Linked DNA regions of Homo sapiens: region 1 is linked to region 2. Evidence: promoter capture Hi-C in human tissues and cell types (Jung and others, 2019). All regions are on one chromosome and are shown on one strand. Each heading gives the region's core, a stretch centred on a gene start or on the middle of the fragment in contact. The rest is flanking DNA. Distances are from core to core; before and after follow the strand shown. Region 1 overlaps WDR76 (WD repeat domain 76). Region 2 holds the start of HYPK (huntingtin interacting protein K).

Region 1 (4,965 bases), core at 2,180-4,679, 46 kb before region 2:
CTTTGGGAGGCTGAGGTGGGTGGATCACGAGGTCAGGAATTCAAGACCAGCCTGGCCAAGATGGTGAAACCCCGTCTCTACTAAAAATACAAAAATTAGCCGGGCGTGGTGGCAGACACCTGTAATTCCAGCTACTCAGGAGGCTGAGGCAGAGAATTGCTTGAACCGGGGAGGCAGAGGTTGCAGTGAGCCAAGATTGCACCACTGAACTCCAGCCTGGGCGACAAAGCGAGACTCCGTCTCAAAAAAAAAAATCATTCCAAATCTAAAATTAACCAAAATTATCATTGAAACACTGAGATTATAGACATCTTTATAGTTAAATTTAATGTGATTTAAAACGGCATATACAGCATGGTCCTTTTTTAAAATTTCTTCGCTATCATTCTATCTGTATAGGTACACATAAATCTGTCAAAATAATATAAGAAAATGAAGCTAAAGGAATTTTTGAATTTCAAGTATTTACAGAGACATTATCTTCTACAATGGCAAAAGTATAAAACAAAAAGCAATTGTAGTCATTATGCTTTTTATTTTTTAAACTGTTAATTTTAGATAATTTATATTGATTTGAGAATATTATTCTCACCCTTCCTCCAACAGTCTTTTTTTTTTTTTTTTTGAGATGAAGTCTCACTCTGTCACCCAGGCTTGAGTGCAGTGGCACGATCTCAGCTCACTGCAACCTCCACCTCCCAGGTTCAAGCGATTCTCCTGTCTCAGCCTCCTGAGTCGCTGGGATTACAGGCACCCACCACCATGCTTGGCTAATTTTTGTATTTTTAGTGGAGACGGGGTTTCACCATGTTGAGACAGCAGGTAATCTGAAATGCAGTTTTTTTGGCCTCAAAAAAAAAAAAAAAAAAGTCTCAACTCTGTCGCCCAGGCTGGAGTGCAGTGGTGCAATGCCGGCTCACTGCAACCTCTGCCTCCCGGGTTCAAGCAATTCTCCTGCCTTAGTTTCCCAAGTGGCTGGGATTACAGGTGCACATCACCATACCCAGCTAATTTTGTATTTTTAGTAGAGACAGGGTTTCACCATGTTAGTCAGGCTGATCTTGAACTCGACCTCAGGTGATTCACCTGCCTCAGCCTCCCAAAGTGTTGGGATTACAGGCATGAGCCACTGCGCCCGGCCTTGTTCATTATTTTATACCAGGATTCATACCACCTACTTGTATGGCGGTGGAGGGTGTTACCACTCCCGTGGGCCAAGAAAACTTCCTTTGAAGACAATCAGTTCTACTACTCACTGTCCCTACTTCTTCTATTTTTCCTGATTTCACCCCAGCAACTATTTCCCCATTCCTCATTGAAAAGAGGAAAAATCGGAATACCCAATGTGCTTCTCTCTACTTTTGATAATATAGAAAATTCTCAGGATTTGGTCAATTTACCAGTATAGATTCTGCACACGGGGCAGGGCAGAAGCTAAATTATGCTGTCTCCTAGCTCTGCTACAGATTTGTTTCTCTCCTTGGTAGCTAGTTTTTGAAGTATACTACATTAGGTTCTGCTTCTTTCTTATTGCAGTAAGTGAATTTTTTTTCTTTTTTTGAGATAGGGTCTCACTCTGTCAATCCAGCCTGGAGTACAGTGACACAATCATGGCTCACTGCAGCCTCAACCGCCTTGAGCTCAGGTGATATTCCCAGCTCAACTTCCTGAGTAGCTGGGACTAATGGCACACACCACTACATCCAGTTTTTTTTTTGTTTGTTTGTTTTTTTTAAGAGACAGGCATCTCACTATGTCACCTAGGCAGGTCTCAAATTAGTGGGCTTAAGCCATCCTCCTGCCTTGACTTCCCAAAGCCCTGGAATTACAAGCATGAGCCACTGCACCCAGCCAGCATGAGGGATCTTATAGGGATGATGAAAATGTTCTAAAACCAGACTATGATAATTAAACAACTAAGTAAACTTATTAAAAACCACTGAGGCCAGGTGCAGTGGCTCACGCCTGTAATCGCAGCTCTGGGAGGCCGAAGCAGGTGAAAATCACTTGAGGTCAGGAGTTCCAGATCAGCCTGGCCAACATGGAGAAGCCTCATCTCTACAAAAAATACAAAAATTAGGCTGGGCACGGTGACTCATTCGTGTAAACCCAGCACTTTGGGAGGCCGAGGCGGGTGGATTACAAGGTCAGGAGTTCAAGACCAGCCTGGCCAAGATGGTGAAACCCCATCTCTACTAAAAAAACAAAAAAATTAGCCAGGTGTGGTAGCGGACGCCTGTAATCCCAGCCACTTGGGAGGCTGAGGCAGAGAACTGCTTGAACCCAGGAGGCGGAGGCTGCAGTGAGCAGAGATCACGCCACTGCATGCCAGCCTGGGCAACAGAGCAAGACTCGTCTCAAAAAAAAAAAAATTAGCCAGGTGTGGCAGCGAGCGCCTATAATCCCAGCTACTCAGGAGGCTGAGGCACGAGAATCACCTGAACCCAGGAGGCAGAGATTGCAGTGAGCCAGGATCACACCACAGCACTCCAGCCTGGGTGACAGAGCAAGATTCCCATCTCAAAAAAAAAGAAAAAAAAGCATTGAATTTTACATTTTTTAAATAGGATTTTATGATAGGTAAATTATTACCTCAATGAAGCCATTTTTTAAAAAAACTGGGGAAATTGTGAGCACAGGATAGACAAGGTAATATTGCTTTTAGACTTGTTAAATCTGTTAATGAGATTGCCAAATGTCCTGGAAAATTAGGTTGATGGAGATACTGGACTACAGAGACCTAGTAATACAGATTTTTTTTTTTTTTTTTTTTTTTTGAGGTGGTGTTTTGCTCTTGTTTCCCAGGCTGGAGTGCAATGGCGCCATCTCGGCTCACTGCAACCTCCGTCTCCTGTGTTCAAGCAAATCTCCTGCCTCAGCCTCCCAAGTAGCTGGGATTACAGGCATGTGCCACCATGCCCGGCTAATTTTGTATCTTTAGTAGAGATGGGATTTCATCATGTTGTTCAGGCTGGTCTTGAACTCCAGACCTCAGGTGATCCGCCAAACCTTGGCATCCCAAAGTGCTGGGATCACAGGTGTGAGCCACCGCGTCCGGCTGTAATACAGATTTTTGGAGTCATCATGAAAGATATGAAAAAAGGATTTTTATGTATGTCTTAAATCTATACAGATCAACTCATCCAAAAAAAAACCTTCATTTAATCATGCTAATTTTCAATTTTTCCTTTGCAAAATTCTTCAAAAAGTAGTCTCAGATGGGTGTGGTGGCTCACACCTGTAATCCCAGCACTTTGGGAGGCTGAAGCAGGTGGAGTGCTTGAGCTCAGGAGTTTGAGATGAGCCTAGGCAACATAGTGAGACCCATCTCTACAAAAAGTTAAAAAATTAGCCAGGTGTGGTGGCACATGACCGTAGTCCCAGCTACGCAGGAAGCTGAGGTGGAGAATTGCTTGACCGTGGGAAGTTGAGGCTGCAGTGAGCTATGATCATGCCACTGCACTCCAGCCTGGGCAACAGAGTGGGACCGTATCTCAGGGGCGGGAAAAAAAAAAAAAAGTCTCTATCCAATGCTTCTCCAGTTCTTTCATTACCCCCATACTTCCTTAATCTCCTAAAGCCTTTGTTCCTTACTTACCTCATTGTCAAAGCTATTCTCTCAACTCACTACATGGTACCCTATTTTCAAAATCAATGGCCTTTTCTCCATTCTTTTAACTTCTCTGCAAAAGGCTCTGTCAACCTCCCATCCTTGAAACTCATCTCTTGGCTTCCAAAACATACTATTCTGATCTTCTTCCCACTTTTTTGCTTCAGTTTTCTTTGCTAAATCCTATCACCTCCTATCCCCACTCACATCTTATCAAAATAAGGGAGAATCTATGATCCCAAAATAAGAACTTGGTTTCTGTCTTCAAACTTGCAAATTTTGTTTATAAACCCCAACCAACTTCAAGTCACCACTATTTCTTCACCTTCATTAATTGTCCTTATGGCATTTTTCATGTCTTTGGTCTTCTTCCCCAATAAGAAAATAAATTCAGAGAACATTAACTTGACTTTTCTCAATTTTGTAATAACAGACAGTATTTCATGCAGAATTATATGCACAATGAATGGAATTCAGTATCTATTTCTGACTCATCAAAGATAACTAAAATCATTCCAAAGCAGGTCCCTGGGAAGATATTTTGATACAGCTTAGAAACTGTTTCTTAGTCCATTTGGGATGCTAAAACAACATACCATAAACTGAGTGGCTTATCAACAGCAGCATTTTATTTCTCACAGTCCTGGTGACTAGGAAGACCAAGATCAAGCTTCCAGTTCATTCAGTGTCTGGTAAGGGCCTACTTTCTGGTTCATAGTTGGTGCCTTCTAGCTGTGTCCTCATATGGTAGAAGGGACAGTGGTCTCTCCTGGGTTTCTTTTATAAGGGCACTAATCTTATTCATGACCTAATCACCTCCCAAAGGTCCTACCTCCTAATACCATAGGGATTAGTATTTCAACATATGAATTTTGGGGAAGACAAAAACATTCAGACCATAGCAGACCATATTTTAAACACAACTAGAAAACTAAACTTCGGGCTGGGCGCCGTGGCTCATGCCTGTAATCCCAGCACTTTGGGAGGCCAAGGCAGGCAGATCACGAGGTCAGGAGATCAAGACCATGGGGAAACCCCACCTCTACTAAAAATAGAAAAAATTAGCCAGGCATGGTGGCAGGCGCCTGTAGTCCCAGCTACTCGGGAGGTTGAGGCAAGAGAATGGCGTGAACCTGAGAGGCGGAGCTTGCAGTGAGCCGAGATCACACCACTGCACTCCAGCCTGGGCGACAGAGCAAGACTCCCTCTCCAAAAAAAGAAAACTAAACTTTGATCTTTTTTTTTTTTTTTTTTTTTTTTTTTACACAGAGTCTCGCTCTGTCGCCCAGGCTGGAGTGCAGTGGTGCGATCTCGGCTCACTGCAAGCTCCCCCTCCCAGGTTCACGCCATTCTCC
Region 2 (5,256 bases), core at 2,757-5,256:
AGAAATAAAAGAATCACACAACAAGGAGATTTTTAGCATGATACTGGAAATAAAATGTCCAAGCTGACAAGTATTAATTGCCTATTAAAGTAAAAGATAACAATTGTCAGGCAGAAGGTGTTTCACATTTTGATAATTCCCTTTGATCTCAGAAACAAGCTCAGGTACTAGCTTGGCTTTAGGTAGCATCTGGATTTATTCCATGACCAAATACAGATGTTTTTGAGAAGACCAAGGTCTTCTCACATCCTTTAAATGTCCCACTGGAAGAATCAAATAGTTTAGTGTCGTACGATAAAAATGAATGCAAATAATTACTATGAGGTGGTAAATACATAAAGATGAACACAGGTACAAGTCACTGTTGTGTGGGATACAATCTAAGAATTATCCTAGAGTCAGAATGAGGGTAAGGCCTTGAAACTCTTGGAGAAATGTCTGTAATTGCCATTTGAGTGTCCTTACAGCAGACTCAGGGGCCGTTGCAGGGTTTTTTTTTTGTTTGTTTGTTTGTTTTAAAGAGACGGCTCTGTTGCCCAGGCTAGAGTGCCTCAGCCTCCCGAGTAGCTGGGACTACAGGCGCCTGCCACCATGCCTGGCTAATTTTTGTATTTTTAGTAGAGACGGGGTTTCACCATGTTAGCCAGGATGGTCTTGATCTTCACTTCGCGATCCGCCCGCCTCAGCCTCCCAAAGTGCTGAGATTACAGGCGTTGAGCCACTGTGCCTAGCTGGGGCCGTCACAGTTTTATAGTTGAGGAAACTAGTTCAACATGTGTGAGTTGGTCCAAGCTGATTTTTTTTTTTTTTTTTTTTGAGATGGAGTTTCACTCTTGTTGCCCAGTCTGGAGTGCAGTGGCGCGATCTCTGCTCACTGCAACCTCCTGGGTTCAAGAGATTCTCCTGCCTCAGCCTCCCTAGTAGCTGGAATTACAGGCGTCCACCACCACACCCAGCTAATTTTTTTTTGTACTTTTAGTAGAGATGGGGTTTCACCATTTTGGCCAGGCTCGTCTCAAACTCCTGATCCCAGGTGATCCACCTGCCTCGGCCTCCCAGAGTGCTGGGATTATAGGCATGCGCCACCACGCCCGGCCCTGATTAACCTTTAAAGTAAAATTACCTTCTCTCTAGGATAGGAAATGGCATGTAGAATGTATTATGGCTTAGAATTTGAATACCAATCAAAACCTTTCATAGGTTTTTTTCGTTTTGAGACAGTCTTGCTCTGTCGCCCAGGCTGGAGTGCAGTAGCACAATCTCAGCTCACTGCAGCCTCAACCTCCCAGGCTCAAGCAAATCCATCTCAGCCTCCAGAGTATCTGGGACCACAGACAGGCACATGCCACCATGCCTGGCTTTTTTTTTTTTTAATTTTAGTAGAGACAAGGTCATGCTATGTTGCCCAGGCTGGTCTGGAAATCCTGACCTGACACAGTCCTCCCAGCCCAGCCTCCCCAAAGTGCTGGGGTTACAGGCATGAGTCACCACACCTGGCCCAACCTTTGATATCTTCTAGTCTTACCATGTTCTAACCCTCAGGTACCTAAATTCTTTTTTTGGTGGTGGGGGGAGCGCGGTAGAGACGAAATCTCACTGTGTTGCCCAAGCTGGTCTCAAACTGCTGGGCTCAAGTGATCGTCTTGCCTCAGCTTCCCAAGGTGTTGGGATTACAGGCATGAGCCACCATGCCTGGCCCCTAAATTCTTTTTTGTTGTTTTGTTTTTGAGACAGTCTCGCTCTGTCACCCAGGCTGGAGTACAGTGGCACAATCTCAGCTCACTGCAACTTCCGCCTCCCTGGTTCAAGCAATTCTTCTGCTTCAGCCTCCTGAGTAGCTGGGACTACAGGCATGCACCACCACGCCTGGCTAATTTTATTTTTTTTGTATTTTTAGTAGAGACAGGGTTTCACCATGTTGGCCAGGCTTGTCTTCAACTCCTGACCTCATGATCCGACTGCCTCAGCCTCCCAAAGTGCTGGGATTACAGGTGTGAGCCACTGTGCCCGGGCTTTTTTTTTTTTTTTTTTTTTTGAGATGGAGTTTCACTCTTTCCCCCAGGCTGGAGTACAGTAGTACAGTAGTGTGATCTCAGCTCACTGCAACCTCTGCTTTCCAATTTCAAGCGATTCCTGCCTCAGCCTCCAGAATAGCTGGGATTATAGGCGCCCACCACCATGCCCAGCTAATTTTTCTATTTTCAGTGGAGACGGGGTTTCACATGTTGGCCAGGCTGGTCTTGAATTCCTGACCTCGTGATCTACCTGCCTCGACCTCCCAAAGTGCTGGGATTAGAGGTGTGAGCCACAGCACCCAGCCAAATTATTTTTTTTTAATCACTCAAAATCAAGCATGTTGTAGGTACCAAAATTCTAACTCAAGGTGGCCTATGAACTGGGTTCATAACCTACATCTATCTATATATATAGTGGCTCCTAGGCAGGTAGCTGGCCTTTTAGATATTCATAAGCTGTCTTGGAGACACATGCCATTTGAGTACAGTAACTCTGCTGAGACTCCAGATGTACCTTGAATACTGTTGAGAGCTAGTCAGATGAATGAGACTGGCCTGCCACCTAGCATCTGCACATGAGGTATTCTTCTACACTGATTTTTCATACAGGTGTGCTAGATTTTAATGGGTCACTTAAATTCAGTTAGTCTCCAACATATAAATTCTCCACAACATAGGATATAGTATACACTCTACTTGACCCAAGATGATAAAACTGAAAAAGACAAAAAAAAATTTTATTGCCATAAATTAATCCAGTAGGTATATTTGAGAAAGCACGCATCAGTTGGTTAGGGCAATAAGCGCCTCTACCACGTTGCCCATGTGTTCCCGCAAACTGCGTTCTGCTGCTGCTCGAGATATCTCCATCTCAGTCATCTGCAGAAAAAAATCATGTTACATAGGTTCCCAGGCATTAATGTGCCACCAAATATACTGACTCCGCTTGTTTCAGGAAACAACCCAAATTAAGCAGAATAGCCTCCCCTCCGCATACACTAGTTAGGCACTACCACTCACTATTAGCTCCAGATCTTCCTTCTTGATAGTGACTTTTGCCAGTTCTTTCTCCCTGCAAAAATATTTAAATATATTAGTCCTCATTCTCAACCAACACCATAAACTCCCAGGAAGGGTCATTCCCAGAAGTGCCCTGTAAATAAATCTTGATAAACCCTTGATTGAAAATAAAAACTCCCACTAATACTCCTTTCCCCTGGAGTCTTGGCAGCAGGTGTTGCCAGGAGGCCTTCTGCTAACAAGAGTAAAGTTGTGGCGCCTAGATCTGCAGGAATTGGTGATAAATTTGAAGAACGGTATAAAGGCTTAATAATGGTTTTTATTTTTGTCTGGGGACCGGGGAGGGAAGAACTGTTAAAGTTGGCTGCCCCTGAAGACTTACCGCTCCTGTTTGGCTTTCTGCTCCCGGGACCTTCTGTCTCCAATCACAGACATGGCCTATGGGAAAGGCAGGTCTAGTTACTGCACCGCTACCCACAATTCCCAATAATCTAAAAGGCCAACAAAACAAGCGGTTCATGCATGGATTCACGATGACAAGTGTTACCAGGTAGCAAGGACTATGTTTAATTCCATTCTATGCACCTGAGGTCCCCTTAAGCCCACTATCAAGCTCCTTTAGGCAAGCGGCGCGCTCCGGTGACCGCTGTTTCCCTCGGCTCTACCCTATTGCCTCCTCCTGCCAACGGGATCAGAACCCCGTCTTGGAGCGCTGGCTTCCAGCTACAGCCTCAGAGCCCCCCTCTGCTCTCAGCCCGCCCCGACATGCTCTTGGCCAACCTTACCGTCTCCAGATTGGAACTCTGGATCTCCTTCTCCTCTGCATAGTCGGTGACCCGCTCCAAGTCCGCCGCACCGCTGTCATGTTTCCGTGGCTTCTCCGGAGGCCGCTCTGGTCCACTGGTCTCAGTCTCCAACTCCAGCTCCACATCCCCCTCGGTCGCCATATCTATTTCACCACGCCGCCGCATAAGCCCCACCTCACGCCGACTTCCGGCAACTGACACAGCTTCCGCCCGGGGAGGAGGCGGGGCTGGCCCTGGGCCACACCTTCTTTCTGCTCCAGTTCTAGAAGCTTCAGGGAGGAAGGCGGTTCGTCTCTCAGACTTCCTTTCGGGTTTGTACAGTGTTTTGTGCGAGGCCTTCTCTCAGACCTAACCCGACACCGCTCCAGCCCACCCCACCGATATCCTTAACCACCTCATAAACTAGGAATAGTCCCCTCAACACATAAACACGCACCCACCCACCTCAGGGAACTCCGTTCAACCTGAATGACGTCTAATCCTAAACCAATAAAGAATGCTAATCCACAGGGGGCCAGATAGACAAACTGCCCCCTAATCTGGAGAGAACAGCCTGAGTGGCCGCAGTGTTGAGGCCCTAAGGACAAAGCTCCTTCACAGGGCATTTGCATTTACCGCAACCTGGAGGTCAGTGTTCTCTTCCGGACGTCTCCATTCTGCCCGGGACCGGGTGCTCAGCCCCAACACAGTGGCAGTCCAATGGGCTGAGGACAGAAGCAACTGCTGCTCTCATCTGCCTTCCATCTGGTGGACCTAAGCCTAATCCCTGGGACAAGGATGGTGGGTGCCAAGGCCGGCCCCAGCCCCGGCACCTCCCTGGGCCTGGCACAGCAGCACAGCGGAGGCAGCAGTGTCCTAGTGAAAAGTCCCTTCTGTCAGGTGAGAGGGTGCGAAGGGGAGAGTGGCCGAAGCTGGGGAGGAAGACGTGCAGAAGCCAATAAAAACGACAGGCCTCTTTTCTCCTCTAATGTCGTTCTGGTTCGTTGCCCCAGGTATAATCTGTAAATCTCTCCCGCCATGTTTCCAGCCCCAGGTGTTTAGGTCGAGAGAAAGGTCAGATATCTCAAGCCTGCTTATAATGAAAGCCCTACTAAGTTGTCAGTGGGCGGCAATCCCAAATGGCTGGAATCAGCTTGAAACAGAACCTGAGTAAAAGGAAGAAAGGGGAAGGGGAAATTTTGGAATTCAACCTCCTGGGTTAACCTCACACATACATTAACGTATGCCTTTCCTCAGCAAGTCTCCACCTCGCTGCCTTGCATCTGCTCTACTCCCAGGTGTGCTGCTGTGGGCCTGCTCCTTGTGCCAGCTGCTGCCACTCTAGGTGGCCCTCTCTCACCGCATCCACTTGCAGCCGCCTGTTCTACATCCTCCTCCATGTGGGGGCCTCAGCAATCTGCTGCCTCCTGCTGTCA

The links. Contacts are between HindIII fragments. The study calls those that stand out against the background at their distance.
Region 1: a contact is called between a fragment that was not itself captured here and the fragment with the promoter of HYPK in region 2, in 1 of the 25 tissues and cell types used here (lymphoblastoid cells).

Annotation. Positions count from the first base shown.
Region 1 is chr15:43,844,835-43,849,799 of GRCh38, reverse strand. The region is part of intron 8 of WDR76 (WD repeat domain 76); the gene reads right to left. Among named protein-coding and RNA genes, the nearest start is that of WDR76, 20 kb to the right of the region's middle. The HindIII fragment of the contact is 4,377 bases long and covers 1,241-4,965 here.
Region 2 is chr15:43,799,349-43,804,604 of GRCh38, reverse strand. HYPK (huntingtin interacting protein K) reads right to left here and starts at 4,006. Exons shown (of 4, transcript NM_016400.4): 1 at 3,821-4,006; 2 at 3,418-3,473; 3 at 3,036-3,087; 4 at 178-2,894. The coding sequence starts at 3,982. The coding sequence ends at 2,799. SERINC4 (serine incorporator 4) reads left to right here and starts at 4,385. Exons shown (of 12, transcript NM_001258031.2): 1 at 4,385-4,720; 2 at 5,119-5,256. The coding sequence starts at 4,619. SERF2-C15ORF63 (SERF2-C15orf63 readthrough) reads right to left here. Exons shown (of 6, transcript NR_037673.1): 3 at 3,821-4,110; 4 at 3,418-3,473; 5 at 3,036-3,087; 6 at 2,016-2,894. It overlaps MFAP1 (microfibril associated protein 1), which reads left to right. Exons shown (of 9, transcript NM_005926.3): 9 at 1-113. RefSeq lists enhancers at 3,730-3,979, 3,887-4,587, 4,588-5,256. The HindIII fragment of the contact is 6,811 bases long and covers 442-5,256 here.